Linked DNA regions of Homo sapiens: region 2 is linked to region 1. The links are contacts of gene promoters, found by promoter capture Hi-C in blood cells and fetal thymus (Javierre and others, 2016). All regions are on one chromosome and are shown on one strand. Each heading gives the region's core, a stretch centred on a gene start or on the middle of the fragment in contact. The rest is flanking DNA. Distances are from core to core; before and after follow the strand shown. Region 1 holds the start of PXN (paxillin). Region 2 has its middle 43 kb from the start of CIT.

Region 1 (7,095 bases), core at 2,280-4,779:
AAGACTCCGTCTCAAAAAAAAAAAAAAAAACAAAAACAAAAATTAGTCGGGTGTGATAGCGGGTGCCTGTAATCCTAGCTACTCAGGAGGCTGAGGCAGGAGAATCACTTGAACCCGGGAGGCAGAGGTTGCAGTGAGCTGAGATCATGCCGCTGCACTCCACCCTGGGCGACAGAGTGAGACTCTGTCTCAAAAAAAAGAAAGAAAAAAAAGAAAAGTTTTGATTGCATATCCGGCTTGCATTCTGTTTCTTTTCTCTCTCTTTCTTTCCTTCCTTCCTTCCTTCCATCCTTCCTTCCTTCCTTTCTTCCTTCCTTCCTTCTTTCTTTCTTTGTTTTTTTTTTTGACAGAGTCTCACTCTGTCGCGCAGGCAGGAGTGCAGTGGCACAGTCTCGACTCACTGCAACCTCCGTCTCCTGGGTTCAGGTGATTCTCCTGCCTCAGCCTCCTGAGCAGCTGGAATTACCGGTGCACACCACTATGCCCAGCTAATTTATATATTTTTAGTAGAGATGGTGTTTCGCCATGTCGGCCAGGCTGGTCTCGAACTCCTGACCTCAAGTGATCCGCCCGCCTTGGCCTTCCAAAGTGCTGGGATTACAGGTGTGAGCCTGGTCGAGTTCTGTTTCTATTGCTGAGTGAAGAGTGTTATTTTGTGGTGACAAGGACCATTCTAAGTACTAGGTGTGTCGTTTCTTATTTAGTCCTATGAGGACTCTGAGAGGTAGCTACTATTAACCTTTCTATAGGGGAAGAAACTGAGGCACAGAGTAAATTGCCCAAGATGAACCACTAGCAAGAAGTCAGCAGGGTTGTCCATCTGCTCTGTCAATGTCGTTTAATCTTTAGGAAGAATGAAAAAACCTGATTGATTTTATCAAATGCAAGGGACTGAATGTTCATATCCTTGAAAATTCATATGTTGAAATCTAATCTCAATTCGATAGTGTTAGGAGGTGAGGCCTGACAGGTGATTAGGTCATGAGGGCAGGGCCCTCATGAAAGAGATTAGTTAGTGCCTTTATTAAAGGGACCCTCTTTGAGCCGTGTGAGGGTACAAAAAGTCAACAGTCTGCAACCCAGAAGAGGGCCCTCACCAGAACCTGACTGTGCTGGCACCCTGATCTTGAACTTTCAGCCTCCAAAACTGTGAAAAAATAATTTCTGTTGTTTATAAGTCACTCGGTCTACAGTATTTTGTTGTAGCAGCCTGAACTAGACACCAAGTTTAATTGCTGTGGGGTGAGAGTCCAAGGGAAGAAGGAAGCCAGGGAGGAAATGGGGGTTTAGGAATGATTTACATGAGGAAATCCCTGGCAGGGACCTGAGTGTTCGAGTGCACCAGCACTCAACTCTGAAGCTTCAGTTCTCTTTAGAACTCTGCATAGCAATGGGAAACTTGCCCATTCAATGGGTGCCTCGCATTTCCAGACCACACAGCTTTGAAAAAGAAAGGTTTTAGACCTTTGGAGAAGTGGACAAGCGTATGCCCTGGGGTTGGTCTAAGTTGTTAGCAGTTTCACTTAGCCGTTTCATAACCAGGCCTTGGCATAAGCCTCCCCAGGTTCAAATCTCAGTTTCCTTACTTATTAGCTGTATGACCTGGAGTAATTCAACCTCTGACTCTCAACTCTTCCAGCTGTAAAAGGGGCTAACAATGCTCATCTCCTAGGCTTGTGGTCAGTATTAAATGTCTTGTCTACAGACCTTTGCACATGCTGTTCCACACAGCTGGGAGTGGGGCGAGGCTACTCATCCTTCATGCTAACCACTTTGCTCTTTTGCGTGCACCTTTAGATTCAAGAAGGTAGACATCATGTTAGTCTTATTCATCATCCCAGCCTACGCAACAAAGCAAGACTGTGTCTTAAAAACACAAAAACAGGCTGGGCGTGGTGGCTCACACCTGTAATCCCAGCACTTTGGGAGGCTGAGGGGGGCGGATCACCTGAAGTCAGGAGTTCAAGACCAGCCTGGCCAACATGGTGAAACCCTGTCTCTACTAAAAATACAAAAATTAGCCAGGCATGGTAGTACACGCCTGTAATCCCACCAGGAGGCAGGAGATCACCTGAGATCAGGAGTTCAAGACCAGCCTGGCCAACATGGTGAAACCCCATCTCTACTAAAAATACAAAAATTAGCCAGGCATGGTGGTATGCGCCTGTAATCCCAGCAGGAGGCAGGAGAATCACTTGAACCTGGGAGGCGGAGGTTGCAGTGAGCTGAGATTGCACCACTGCACTCCAACCTGGGCGACAGATTGGGACTCCATCTCAAACAAAAACAAAAACACAAAAACTAAAACAAAATAGAGGTATGTGCAAGATGCTGGAAAACCACGCAATAGAGTGTTTGAGGAACAGTCTTTGGTCTTGAATTTATTATAGGAGAATGTGGCAGCCACAGAAGCTGCTTGGATCTGCCTTTATAAAATGACTGAACATGGTGGGAGCATTGGAACCCGGATACTTCTGCCCAAGGAGACTTCTCATTTTTTTTGTCCTGGAATTCCCTGATGGGTTGACCTGTTTGTCAGATCTGAGTCTCCTTGCCCAACCCTGCTTATTTCCCCTTCTCTGTCACGGGCATTACCCCTAGCTTTATCTCAGCATCTCATCTGCTTTCTGGAGGACCTGATCTGACCCAGAAGGCCTGGATTCTTGAGGGACAAGGGGAACTCGAAGCTGTACTTGCAGAGCAGTTTTATATAAAATCCACAAACTGCCATCACCCATCCCAACGGGTAGGGAAGTACCTCTAGGAGGATTAATTTAGAGAATAGCTATATAGTGTCTGTCTATTCAGACACTCAATAAATGGTAGTTGTTATTATTACCCAATTTCCGAGTGTGTGGGAGCACTGGGTGTGACTTTCCTGTAGTTTTCCCTTTAATGTCTAATCTGGGGACCCCTCTGCCCCATGCAGTTTTGGAAAAGTGTCTAGGGAGGGTGGCTGTGTGGAAGTAATATTAAGAGAGATGGAACCACACAGGTATTGGGTTTGGGCCAGAAAGGGTGAACTGCGAGCTGCACTGCCATTGATCCAGAGGACGACCCCAGGAAAGGTCAGCCACGGGCTCCGGGCCTTGCCTGGTACTGATTTATGGTCCTCCTGGGTGGTGACCTACAGGTGACAGACGGACAGGTGGGCAAAACTGACTGTCCAGTGGACAGGCATGTGATGACCCAGTGGCTGACGAATGCACAGACACATGGCTGACTGTGGACGGATTTGTCATCCGCAGGGTCAGGCAAGTGACTTTGAGAGGGACAGAAAGATGGATGGGAGTGGCTGGAGGCCTGGGAGCCGCCCACCTGCCCGCTTAGCCGCGAGGGGGCGCCACCGCCCCGCCCAGCGACGCCCACTGCCCGGGCTCTTGGCGGGGGCGGGACCAGCGTGCGCAGGGGGCGGGGCCAGCAAGCTCGCGGGGGTGTCCGGGGGCGGGGCGCGCGTGCACAGGGGGCGGCCGGGGGCGGGGCGCGCGGCGGGCGCGGGCGCGGGCGCGCGCGGCGGCGGCGCGTTCCGTTCCGGGCCGAGGCTCGCGGCGGAAAAGTTGCGGGGCATAGACGAGCGGCCCCGGGACGGGCAGCTAGCGCGACCCTGAGCCGGCGCCCGTGGTCCGGCCATGGACGACCTCGGTGAGTGAGCGGGAGGCCGAGGGAGGAGGAGGCGAGAGGCGCGCAGCTTGGGGCCAGGAGGGCGCCAGCGAGCGGCAGGGGCCGCGGGATCCCACCCTCGGCGGCCCCGGCCTCAGCTCCTGTCCCTGCCGGCCGGGGCTCCGCGGGGCTGGGATCCCTAACCGGGCCTTAGTCTCGGGCCAGGCCGGCCCCGGCACCGACCGCACAGCAGCGACCCCCCGTCTGGGACGGCTTCACCTCTGGACCCCCGACCTCGGGGACCCATCACCATCTCCCAGAAGGGCCCCAGGGACCAGCCCGCCCCTCAGGGACCCACCCCGTCCGCTGCAGGGACGAGACTTCCTGCGGCAGACCACCTCGTCAGCTACGGGACCCTCACCTCGCAGACCTCTCCCCACCCCCACCTCACAGATCGACCGCCCAACTCGGGGAGCAGCTGCCCGATCTCATGGGCTGCTCCCTCATTTCCTCGACCTGCTCCCCGTCCCTCCAGGGCCGCCCCCCACTTCACAGACTAGCACCCCCCTTCAGGGATAACCCCTCGGAGCCCACCCCTTTCATTTCACAAGTCAGATGCAAAAGCTAGAGATGAGCGTGTGATGACCACACCCCCATTTCAAAGACAAGTTTCCCAGTCTGCCTGCTCTTCTGACCCCCCACTTCAAATCTGGTCACCCCGTTTCAAGGACCCATCACTCATTTTCTCTCACTGACCTCCCCGCTCTGTGGACCAGCCCCTCAATTCACAGACCAGTCCGTCTACCATGGTATCTAAGTCTAGAACGGTAATTTGGGAGTCCTGATTCTCTCCCCACCCCTAGATTCTGGTGAAATGCCAGGGGAATGAGGTGGAAGGTGGGCCCCAAGGTATGACCATCCCTGAACGTGTCCTGGCTAGCAGAGTCCCCTCCACCCTCTCTGCGTCAGGCCCTGCTGGAAGCCACGCAGGTGAAAGAGGACAGGATGCCCAGAACAGAGTTTTACTGTTTTCCTGTTATTGGAGCCCCAAGGCTACTCTTTTCAGTCCAGTCTTGATCTGGTGTTAGGGGAAAGAAAGTATCTCCTGGAAGCCGACTCTAAACCCAAGGGGGTTGGTGCCAGGGTTCTAGGAATGCCTTGGGTGGCGTGAACGCAGGAGTGGGAGGATTCGCTGTCTCTCCCTCCCCTTCACGCCTGTAGCTGGAGGGCCCTGAGCTTGGGAGGTGAGGAGGGGGGCAACGTTTCTTCTCTGCAGGAGCCTTGTCTTTCCTCTCTGGACTGTGGGTGGCTTGTGTGACCACTGATGCTTCCTCTGTCCCAGGCTCTGAGGAGTAGATTCAGCAGACAGGACTGATGGACCTCTACCAAGCAGCGCCGGGCACTAAGTTAAGACTGGCTATTTGTAGGTGCTGGACTTGACTGCTTCCCTCCAGCTTCCTTTTGGGATCAGGGTGCCCCTGAGATCCTGGAGCTGGGGTTGGTGTAGGGTCCTGCCTGTTTTGCAGAGTGAGATGGCTGCCAAGCGTGGTTCTGCCTTTGGGTCAGGCTTGGCACCCATTTTTCCAGTGTGCTCAAGGTTGGCATGGCTTCCAGGCAGGTATTTTTTTTTTTCACATAAAAATAGCTCAGCTGGAAGGAGGCTGGGGGATGTTCTTTGAACCAGGATCTAAGAGTCTGAGTGCTTTCCCAGTGGGAACTGGGAGCAAAGTTACAGTTTCTAAAGTGCTGGTGCAGTTCTGTTGCTTCTCGGCAGTCCCCGTGCTGTTTCAAGGACTGAGAAAGTCTTTGTAGAGCTCGCCATCGAAATCTGGAATTCCTGTCTTCTGACAGTCTTCCATTTAGGGCCAGGAAACTGAGTTCTGAAAGGAAAGAGAGTACTGTATACGGGAGAGGGGATTGTAGGGATTTAAATTGCTGTTTGTGGAGTACTTCCCTCTACCTCGATTTGTGATATCCTCACAACAACCCTTTTATCAGATTCCACCTTAAAGCCAATGCTGTCATGACCACCTGCCTTTTTACAGATTGAGAAAGCCGAGACGAAGAGAGGCTGATTCTCTTGCCCAAGGCTGCACAGCCATGAAATGACAAAACCATAACTGGAAGCCCAATTCCTAGCTCCCAGATCTGTGGCTCTTGTATACCGAGAAGACTTTTTTTCCTGGGGAGGAGGCAAGGGCACTTGAAGGAGGGGTTGCCACTGGGTGATGGCGATCACCTGTAACTTCTACTGCTTTCTACCATAGACTCCCAGTTGCTTACATCCGGGCTGCCCGACTTCCTTGGCCTGAGCTCCCAAGGGGCAAGCCACGCCTGACTGACCGGAGCCTGGGGTGGGAGGAATGGGGTGTGCAGGAGGGGAGAGGAATTTGCCTTTGCACTGGGGCCCCGTCAGCTGTCTGGATGGCGGCTCAGCACACTGCCATCAGCTGTTTTCCTTAGGGTGGCTCAGCTGTTTTCCTTAGGGTGGACACAAAGCCCAGACCTCTTGTTTTTATTTTTCTCCTGAGCGTGCTCTCAGCCGTGTGCCTCCTGGTCCCTAACACAGGGGAGAGTTTATGGTGTGTCCGGTAGCAAGGCCAGAGGGTGCATCACCTCCTCTGTGACTTTGTTTTTTGGTCTAATAAAAAATGGGGAACTCTTCTCCTTCCCATAGTTGCCAATGACAGACTCACCATGTGCTGCTTAATAAGTTACAAATTTATAGCTCTCTGAGCAGAAAAATATCAACACAGCGTGTTCTGCCCTTCCCTGTGTGTTCTCTCCACTTTGTTCTTTGGGGTGGCTGCTTGGTGGCTTTTCTTATTACTGTTTAGATGCTGGTTTGGCCCAGAGTTCGCTCTGTTCAAGTTCTGGCCGGAGTTTCCTGGACAGAGTTCCCACAACACTGAGATGCACTCTGACTGTGTTTTCTAACCCGATTGCTTGCTCTTCCTCTGTTCATGTTCTCAGTGTACTTGGTGGGGGCTTTGACCACAACTGTGGTCTAATCATGATCATGTGCGCTTCATGGGAGACAGGCACTGTACTCAGCACTTTACGAGCTGTATCACAACCTTTCAGAAAGGGAGGTGTTTTCGCTCCACTTTATACATGTGGAAACCTGAGCTCAGGGAAGTTTAGTGGTAGTGCTGGGATTTGAACCCAGGCTCATCCAATTCCAGATCCGGTTATCTTAATCATCATAAGGTGGTAGGTGCTGGTGACTAACCAGGGGGATGAGCCTTGGGGCCTGCTGAGTAATTGATAGTTACCTTTAACAATCTCTGCCCTAGGGGCCCATCCCAGGAAATGGCAAAGGGTGTGTCCAGTGCAAGACTGGGTAGCTTTGCCTTCCCATCCTCTAGCAGGGGGAACAGCCAGCTGTTGGCAGTGCCCAGTTGCTGCTGGAATCTGGACATGTCTTCTTTCAGCTTCTCAGCAGTCTTGACCCTTTGGAAAACAGTGCCTCATTGTCCTTGGGGGTAGTGCTAG
Region 2 (7,095 bases), core at 2,023-4,522, 340 kb after region 1:
TATTTCAGCTACCCAGCTTGTGCTACTTTGTTATGGCAGCCTTAGGAAATGAATACAGTATTTTATTTGGAAGCGCTTAAAGGGGAAAATGAGGTGACAGCTGACCATCATGCAAATGGAAATGCAATGCCCGTTGCACATCATGTAGCAAGCATTCAAAAAGTGCTTGTTGAACTCAACTGAACTGAATGCTAATAAAGGGAAAAGCAAAGTTTATTGGAAGTTATCTTAGGATAGCTGCTTGATTTATTTTCTTTAGACCCTGGGCCTGTGGGCACCTGCTAATTTGCATACTTACTCATGGTATTTGATTCTGTGCGTGGAACTGTGGAGGGAACACTCTTCATTTTTGGACAATTTTAGTACTGCTTTAGAAGTCAGTCACTAATGAGGTCCCTGCACTGTATCACTATAATCCAAGTCCTGATCATTTAAACTAGATGTAAAATTTAAAAATACTCCTGGCCTTTTTTCCTCTGTTTTGGGCTGCTCCTCTTGGCTTCTGAGGAGCCCCCAGTTCTGTTTTTAGGTGTCTAGGTAGGTAAATAATACATGATTTACAAAGGCGATTTAAGAGCTCAGCAGAGCATCAAATATGAGTGCCCTTGCTAGTTATTTATTTTTTCTTTCTTATAATTAAAATGTTTTAATTTTCTTTTTCTTTCTTTTTTTGAGACAGAGTCTTGCTCTGTCGCCCAGGCTGGAGTGCAGTGGTGCGATTATAGCTCACTGCAGCCTCGAACTCCTGGGTTTAGCTGATCCTCCCACCTCAGTCTCCCAAGTAACTGGAACTACAGGCATGCACCACCATTCCTGGCTGGTATTTTTATTTTTTGTAGAGACGAGGGTCTCACCATATTGCCCAGGCTGGTCTCGAACTCCTGGCCTCAAGTGATCCTCCTGCCTCACCTTCCCAAAGTGCTGGGATTACAGGTGTGAGCCACTGCCTTTGCTAGTTCTTATCTTGTCACTGTAGCTGATAAATCACCACCATAAGCCTCAATTTGTCTTATCTATAAGATGGAGCTCTCATTGCTTTTTTTTAAGTTACCAATAGCAGGAGAATAAAGTGAGTTATCTGATCAACTCCCACAAGCTGAGGTGTTCCTCAGGTCACATTTGGAGGTCCAAAATCACTTTTGAATCCTGCAGGTTGAGCCTCTGGATCAACATTTCGCAGAGGAGGGTTGCATCTATCTTTTTTTTTTTTTTTTTTTTTTTTTGAGATGGAGTCTCGCTCTGTCACCAGGCTGGAGCACAGGGGTGTGATCTCGGCTCACTGCAACCTCTGCCTCCCAGATTCAAGCAGTTCTCCTGCCTCAGCCTCCTGAGTAGCTGGGATTACATGCCTGCCACCACTCCTGGCTAATCTTTGTATTTTTACTAGAGATGAGGTTTCACTAAGTTGGCCAGGATGGACTCGATCTCCTGACCTTGTGATCCGCCTGCCTCGGCCTCCCAAAGTGCTGAGATTATAGGCGTGAGCCACCTCACCCGGCCGAAAGTTGTGTCTATCAATGGCCAGGGGTACAAAAAAAATGAGTTCTGAGCTTTATATGTTATTTTTTCTTTTCTTTCCTTTTTCTTTTTTTTTTTCTTTTTTTTTTGAGACAGGGTCTCAGTCTGTTACCCAGGCTGGAGTGCAGTGGCATGATCACGGTTCACTGCAACCTCTGCCTCCTGGTCTCAAGTGATTCTCATGCCTCAGCCCTCCCAAGTAGCTGGGACTACCATTTTTTTGTATTTTTAATAGAGATGGGGTTTTGATATGTTGGCCAGGCTGGTCTTGAACTCCTGGCCTCACGTGATCCACCCACCTCAGCCTCCCCAGATGATGGGATTACAGGTGTGAGCCACCAAGCTCAGCTCTGGCCTCTCCATTCTAACTTCTATAGTATTCGCGTCATCTTCACAGTCCACCCAGTGGTCTTGTGGCTGCTCCAGATTTTACTTTCTTTTTTTTTTTTTTTTTTTTTTTTGAGATGGAGTTTCACTCTGTCATCCAGGCTGGAGTGCAGTGATGCAATCTTGGCTCACTTCAACCTCTGCCTCCCGGGTTCAAGCGATTCTGGTGTCTCAGCCTCCCAAGTAGCTGGGACTACAGGCGCGCACCACCATACCCGGCTAAGTTTTTGTATTTTTAGTAGAGACAGGGTTTCACCATGTTGGCCAGGCTGGTCTCGAACTCCTGACCTCAGGTGATCCGCCTACTTCTACCAGACTAGCCAGGGGAAGAAATAATATATTTTCTGATATCTCTTATGTTAGTCCTAGGATTCACTCTCTATTGTTGACCTGAATGCAGTCATTTGCTGATTCCTGAACCAATTGCTGTGGCCAGGAGACGAGAACTAGGGAACAGAAAGCTCTCAGGAGTAAACATCTCTCAGGTTTCCCTTTTTATTTTTATTTTATTATTATTATTATTATTATTTTGAGACAGAGCCTTGCACTGTCACCCAGGCTGGAGTGCACTGATGCCATCTCTGCTCACTGCAACCTCTGCCCCCAAGGTTCAAGTGATTCTCCCGCCTCAGCCTCCCGAGTAGCTGGGATTACAGGCTTGTACTACCACACTCAGCTAATTTTTTGTATTTTTAGTAGAGATGGGTTTTTACCATGTTGACCAGGCTGGTCTCAAACTCCTGACCTCAAATGATCTACCCACCTTAGCCTCCCAAAGTGCTGGGATTACAGAGGTGAGCCACTGTTCCCGGCCAGGTTCTTAGATGCCACACCATCTCTCATCTCTATTCTCTCAGTATCTCTGCTCCTTCTTTCTGCACATCAACCATCTCTATTTTTCTCTGCATAGGGTGGAAGGTGACCATCCTCAGTCTTTGAGTTTATGTGGCCTCATTCAAGGGATAGTATAGTCTGACAGATTCTCATGTTCTGATTTTAAATCCTGGCAGAAATAATCTGATTGGGCTTAGTAGGATTAGTTTCTTTCTTTTTTTGAGACAGAGTCTCGCTCTGTCATCCAGGCTGGAATGCAGTGGCATGATATCAGCTCACTGCAACTTCCGCCTTCTAGGTTCAAGCAATTCTTCTGCCTCAGCCTCCCTAGTAGCTGGGGTTACAGGAGTGCACCACCACGCCTGGATAATTTTTTGTATTTTTAGTAGAGGCAGGGTTTCACCATGTTGGCCAGGCTGGTCTCGAACTCCTGACCTCTGGTGATCTGACCGCTTCAGCCTCCCAAAGTTCTGGGATTACAGGCGTTCACCACTGGTCAGTAGGGTTAGTTTCGACTCTGGTCCCAACAAGTATGGTCAAGGAGTTGGGATTACATTGTCCAGACATGGCCAAAAGGAGCCACCACGGGAGTTGGAAATGGGGACAAGACAGGTCTCAGGGACTTGGTGTTGTTCCCTTATTACCAATGAGAAGAAGTAAATACCCTGATATGCCAAAACCTGAGAAAGGCCTTCCACTCAATAGCCCTGATACATGTATCAGTTAGGATATTTTGGTTGCAAGTGACACAGAAATCAACTCTGGCCAACTCAAACCAAACATTTATACATATATGTATATGTATAAATATACACATGAACACTCTTACACACACATATGTATCTGGAATCCCAAGAGACAGTGTCTAATTGGAGTGGCCTGGGTCACATGATGTGCTAGATCATTATAATAATGGCTCTCTGCAGTGGCTCACGCCTGTAATCTCAGCACTTTGGGAGGCCGAGTCAGGAGGATTGCTTGAGCCCAGGAGTTCCAGACCAGCCTGGACAACATGGTGTAACCCGTTTCTACAAAAAATGCAAAAGTTGGCCAAGTGTGGTGGTGTGCACCTTTTAGTGCTGGATACCTGGGAGGCCGGGGTGGGAGGATCACTTGAGCCTGGGAGGTTGAGGCTGCAGTGAGCTTATGATTGCGTCACTGCACTGCAGTCTGGGAGACAGAGTGAGACCCTGCTCAAAAAGAAAAGTAAATAAATAATGGCCCTTTACCCACCCCTCTTTGCAATGTGGTGTTGCTGTTCCTCCCTTCAAGAGGTGGACTCTATTCTTCTGCTCGCTTGAACTGATACTGGCCTCATGGCTCACATTGACCAACAGAATGTGGCAGACTTGATGCTGTGTGAGCTTCAGAGCTCAGGTTTTAAGAAACCTCTCCCTCTCCCTCTCCCTCTCCCTCTCCCTCTCCCTCTCCCTCTCCCTCTCCCTCTCCCTCTCCCTCTCCCTCTCCCTCTCCCTCTCCCTCTCCCTCTCCCTCTCCCTCTCCCTCTCCCTCTCCCTCTCCCTCTCCCTCTCCCTCTCCCTCTCCCTCTCCCTCTCCCTCTCCCTCTCCCTCTCCCTCTCCCTCTCCCTCTCCCTCTCCCTCTCCCTCTCCCTCTCCCTCTCCCTCTCCCTCTCCCTCTCCCTCTCCCTCTCCCTCTCCCTCTCCCTCTCCCTCTCCCCACGGTCTCCCTCTCATGCGGAGCCGAAGCTGGACTGTACTGCTGCCATCTCGGCTCACTGCAACCTCCCTGCCTGATTCTCCTGCCTCAGTCTGCCGAATGCCTGCGATTGCAGGCACGCGCCGCCACGCCTGACTGGTTTTGGTGGAGATGGGGTTTCGCTGTGTTGGCCGGGCCGGTCTCCAGCCCCTAACCGCGAGTGATCCGCCAACCTCGGCCTCCCGAGGTGCCGGGACTGCAGACGGAGTCTCGTTCACTCAGTGCTCAATGGTGCCCAGGCTGGAGTGCAGTGGCGTGATCTCGGCTCACTACAACCTACACCTCCCAGCCGCCTGCCTTGGCCTCCCAAAGTGCCGAGATTGCAGCCTCTGCCCGGCCGCCACCCCGTCTGGGAAGTGAGGAGTGTCTCTGCCTGGCCGCCCATCGTCTGGGATGTGAGGACCCCCTCTGCCTGGCTGCCCAGTCTGGAAAGTGAGGAGCGTCTCCGCCCGGCCGCCATCCCATCTAGGAAGTGAGGAGCGCCTCTTCCCAGCCGCCATCACATCTAGGAAGTGAGGAGCGTCTCTGCCCGGCCGCCCATATTCTGAGATGTGGGGAGCGCCTCTGCCCCGCCGCCCCATTTGGGATGTGAGGAGCGCCTCTGCCCGGCCGAGACCCCGTCTGGGAGGTGAGGAGCGTCTCTGCCCGGCCGCCCCGTCTGAGAAGTGAGGAGACCCTCTGCCTGGCAACCACCCCGTCTGAGAAGTGAGGAGCCCCTCCGCCCGGCAGCTGCCCCGTCTGAGAAGTGAGGAGCCTCTCCGCCCGGCAGCCACCCCATCTGGGAAGTGAGGAGCGTCTCCGCCCGGCAGCCACCCCGTCCGGGAGGGAGGTGGGGGGAGTCAGCCCCCCGCCCGGCCAGCCGCCCGATCCGGGAGGGAGGTGGGGGGTCAGCTCCCCGCCCGGCCAGCCGCCCCGTCCGGGAGGTGAGGGGCGCCTCGGCCCGGCCGCCCCTACTGGGAAGTGAGGAGCCCCTCAGCCCGGCCAGCCACCCCGTCCGGGAGGGAGATGGGGGGGTCAGCCCCCCCACCCGGCCAGCCGCCCCGTCCGGGAGGGAGGTGGGGGGGTCAGCCGCCCGGCCGGCCGCCCCGTCCGGGAGGTGAGGGGCGCCTCTGCCTGGCCGCCCCTACTGGGAAGTGAGTAGCCCCTCTGCCCGGCCAGCCACCCCGTCCGGGAGGGAGATGGGGGGGTCAGCCCCCCCACCCGGCCAGCCGCCCCGTCCGGGAGGGAGGTGGGGGGGTCAGCCCCCCGCCCGGCCGGCCGCCCCGTCCGGGAGGTGAGGGGCGCCTCTGCCCGGCCGCCCCTACTGGGAAGTGAGTAGCCCCTCTGCCCGGCCACCACCCCGTCTGGGAGGTGTGCCCAACAGCTCATTGAGAACGGGCCAGGATGACAATGGCGGCTTTGTGGAATAGAAAGGCGGGAAAGGTGGGGAAAAGATTGAGAAATCGGATGGTTGCCGTGTCTGTGTAGAAAGAAGTAGACATGGGAGACTTTTCATTTTGTTCTGCACTAAGAAAAATTCCTCTGCCTTGGGATCCTGTTGATCTGTGACCTTATCCCCAACCCTGTGCTCTCTGAAACATGTGCTGTGTCCACTCAGGGTTAAATGGATTAAGGGCGGTGCAAGATGTGCTTTGTTAAACAGATGCTTGAAGGCAGCATGCTCCTTAAGAGTCATCACCACTCTCTAATCTCAAGTACCCAGGGACACAAACACTGCGGAAGGCCGCAGGGTCCTCTGCCTAGGAAAACCAGAGACCTTTGTTCACTTGTTTATCTGCTGACCTTCCCTCCACTATTGTCCCATGACCCTGCCAAATCCCCCTCTGTGAGAAACACCCAAGAATTATCAATAAAAAAATAAATTTAAAAAAAAAAAAAAAAAAAAAGAAACTTTGCAGCTTCTGCCTGGCCTCCTGTGGGACAAGCAGTCATATGGAGGAAAACTGAGGCTCCTCAGGGGACAGTCAGCACCCACTGCCAGTTACTGAGGGAGGCTGTCTCGGATCTTCTAGCTCATCCAAACTTCCGGTTGAATGTAGCCATGTGGATGAGCCCAGGCAAGATCAGCAGATTTGTCCAAATGGCCAACCCTAGAACCATAAGAAATTAACAATGATCATTTTAAGCCTCTGAGTTTGGTGTTGTTTTTTACACAGCATCAATAACTGGAACACATGCCCATCCCCCTGGGCCTGGAGAGAAAGGATCTGCTAGGAGAAGCCTCTAGAAACCTCTTTTGGCTTCCACAGTGTGAGGGCTGCATACTTAGACTCTCTGCCCTGTGAATTTCCCACAGCCAGGGAGAAGCAGTTCTTCAAAATGCAAGCAGGGTGCTGTTTGGAAGAGAAAAATATATATACCTGGAAGCTCAAAAACAACAAATATCCACTCTATTTTGCTTTGAGCTTTTGTAAGCATAGCTGTATAAATACTCCAAATACCTATTACATGTTGTCTTAAACTCATACTTTTGAAAATAAATACCACCAGGATGGGCTGATTTGAATTAAATAGACAGAGACTACAGTTTGTACCATCTGCAGTCCCCCACTTCTCTTGGCCCAATTTGAGAACAAACACATACACACCGAACCACAAGAGAACGACTGATTTAGAACAAATTAAATAAAGTAACATGT

Evidence for each region. Contacts are between HindIII fragments. The CHiCAGO score rates a contact against its expected background, and 5 or more counts as called.
Region 2: a fragment that was not itself captured here is called in contact with the fragment with the promoter of PXN in region 1 in 1 of 17 cell types (activated CD4 T cells); the score reaches 5.4 in activated CD4 T cells.

Annotation. Positions count from the first base shown.
Region 1 is chr12:120,262,164-120,269,258 of GRCh38, reverse strand. It overlaps PXN (paxillin), which reads left to right and starts at 3,529. Exons shown (of 15, transcript NM_001385981.1): 1 at 3,529-3,642. The coding sequence starts at 3,630. RefSeq lists silencers at 3,222-3,501, 3,662-3,811. The HindIII fragment of the contact is 6,296 bases long and covers 1,363-7,095 here.
Region 2 is chr12:119,917,037-119,924,131 of GRCh38, reverse strand. No RefSeq gene overlaps it. Among named protein-coding and RNA genes, the nearest start is that of CIT, 43 kb to the right of the region's middle. The HindIII fragment of the contact is 9,411 bases long and covers 1-7,095 here.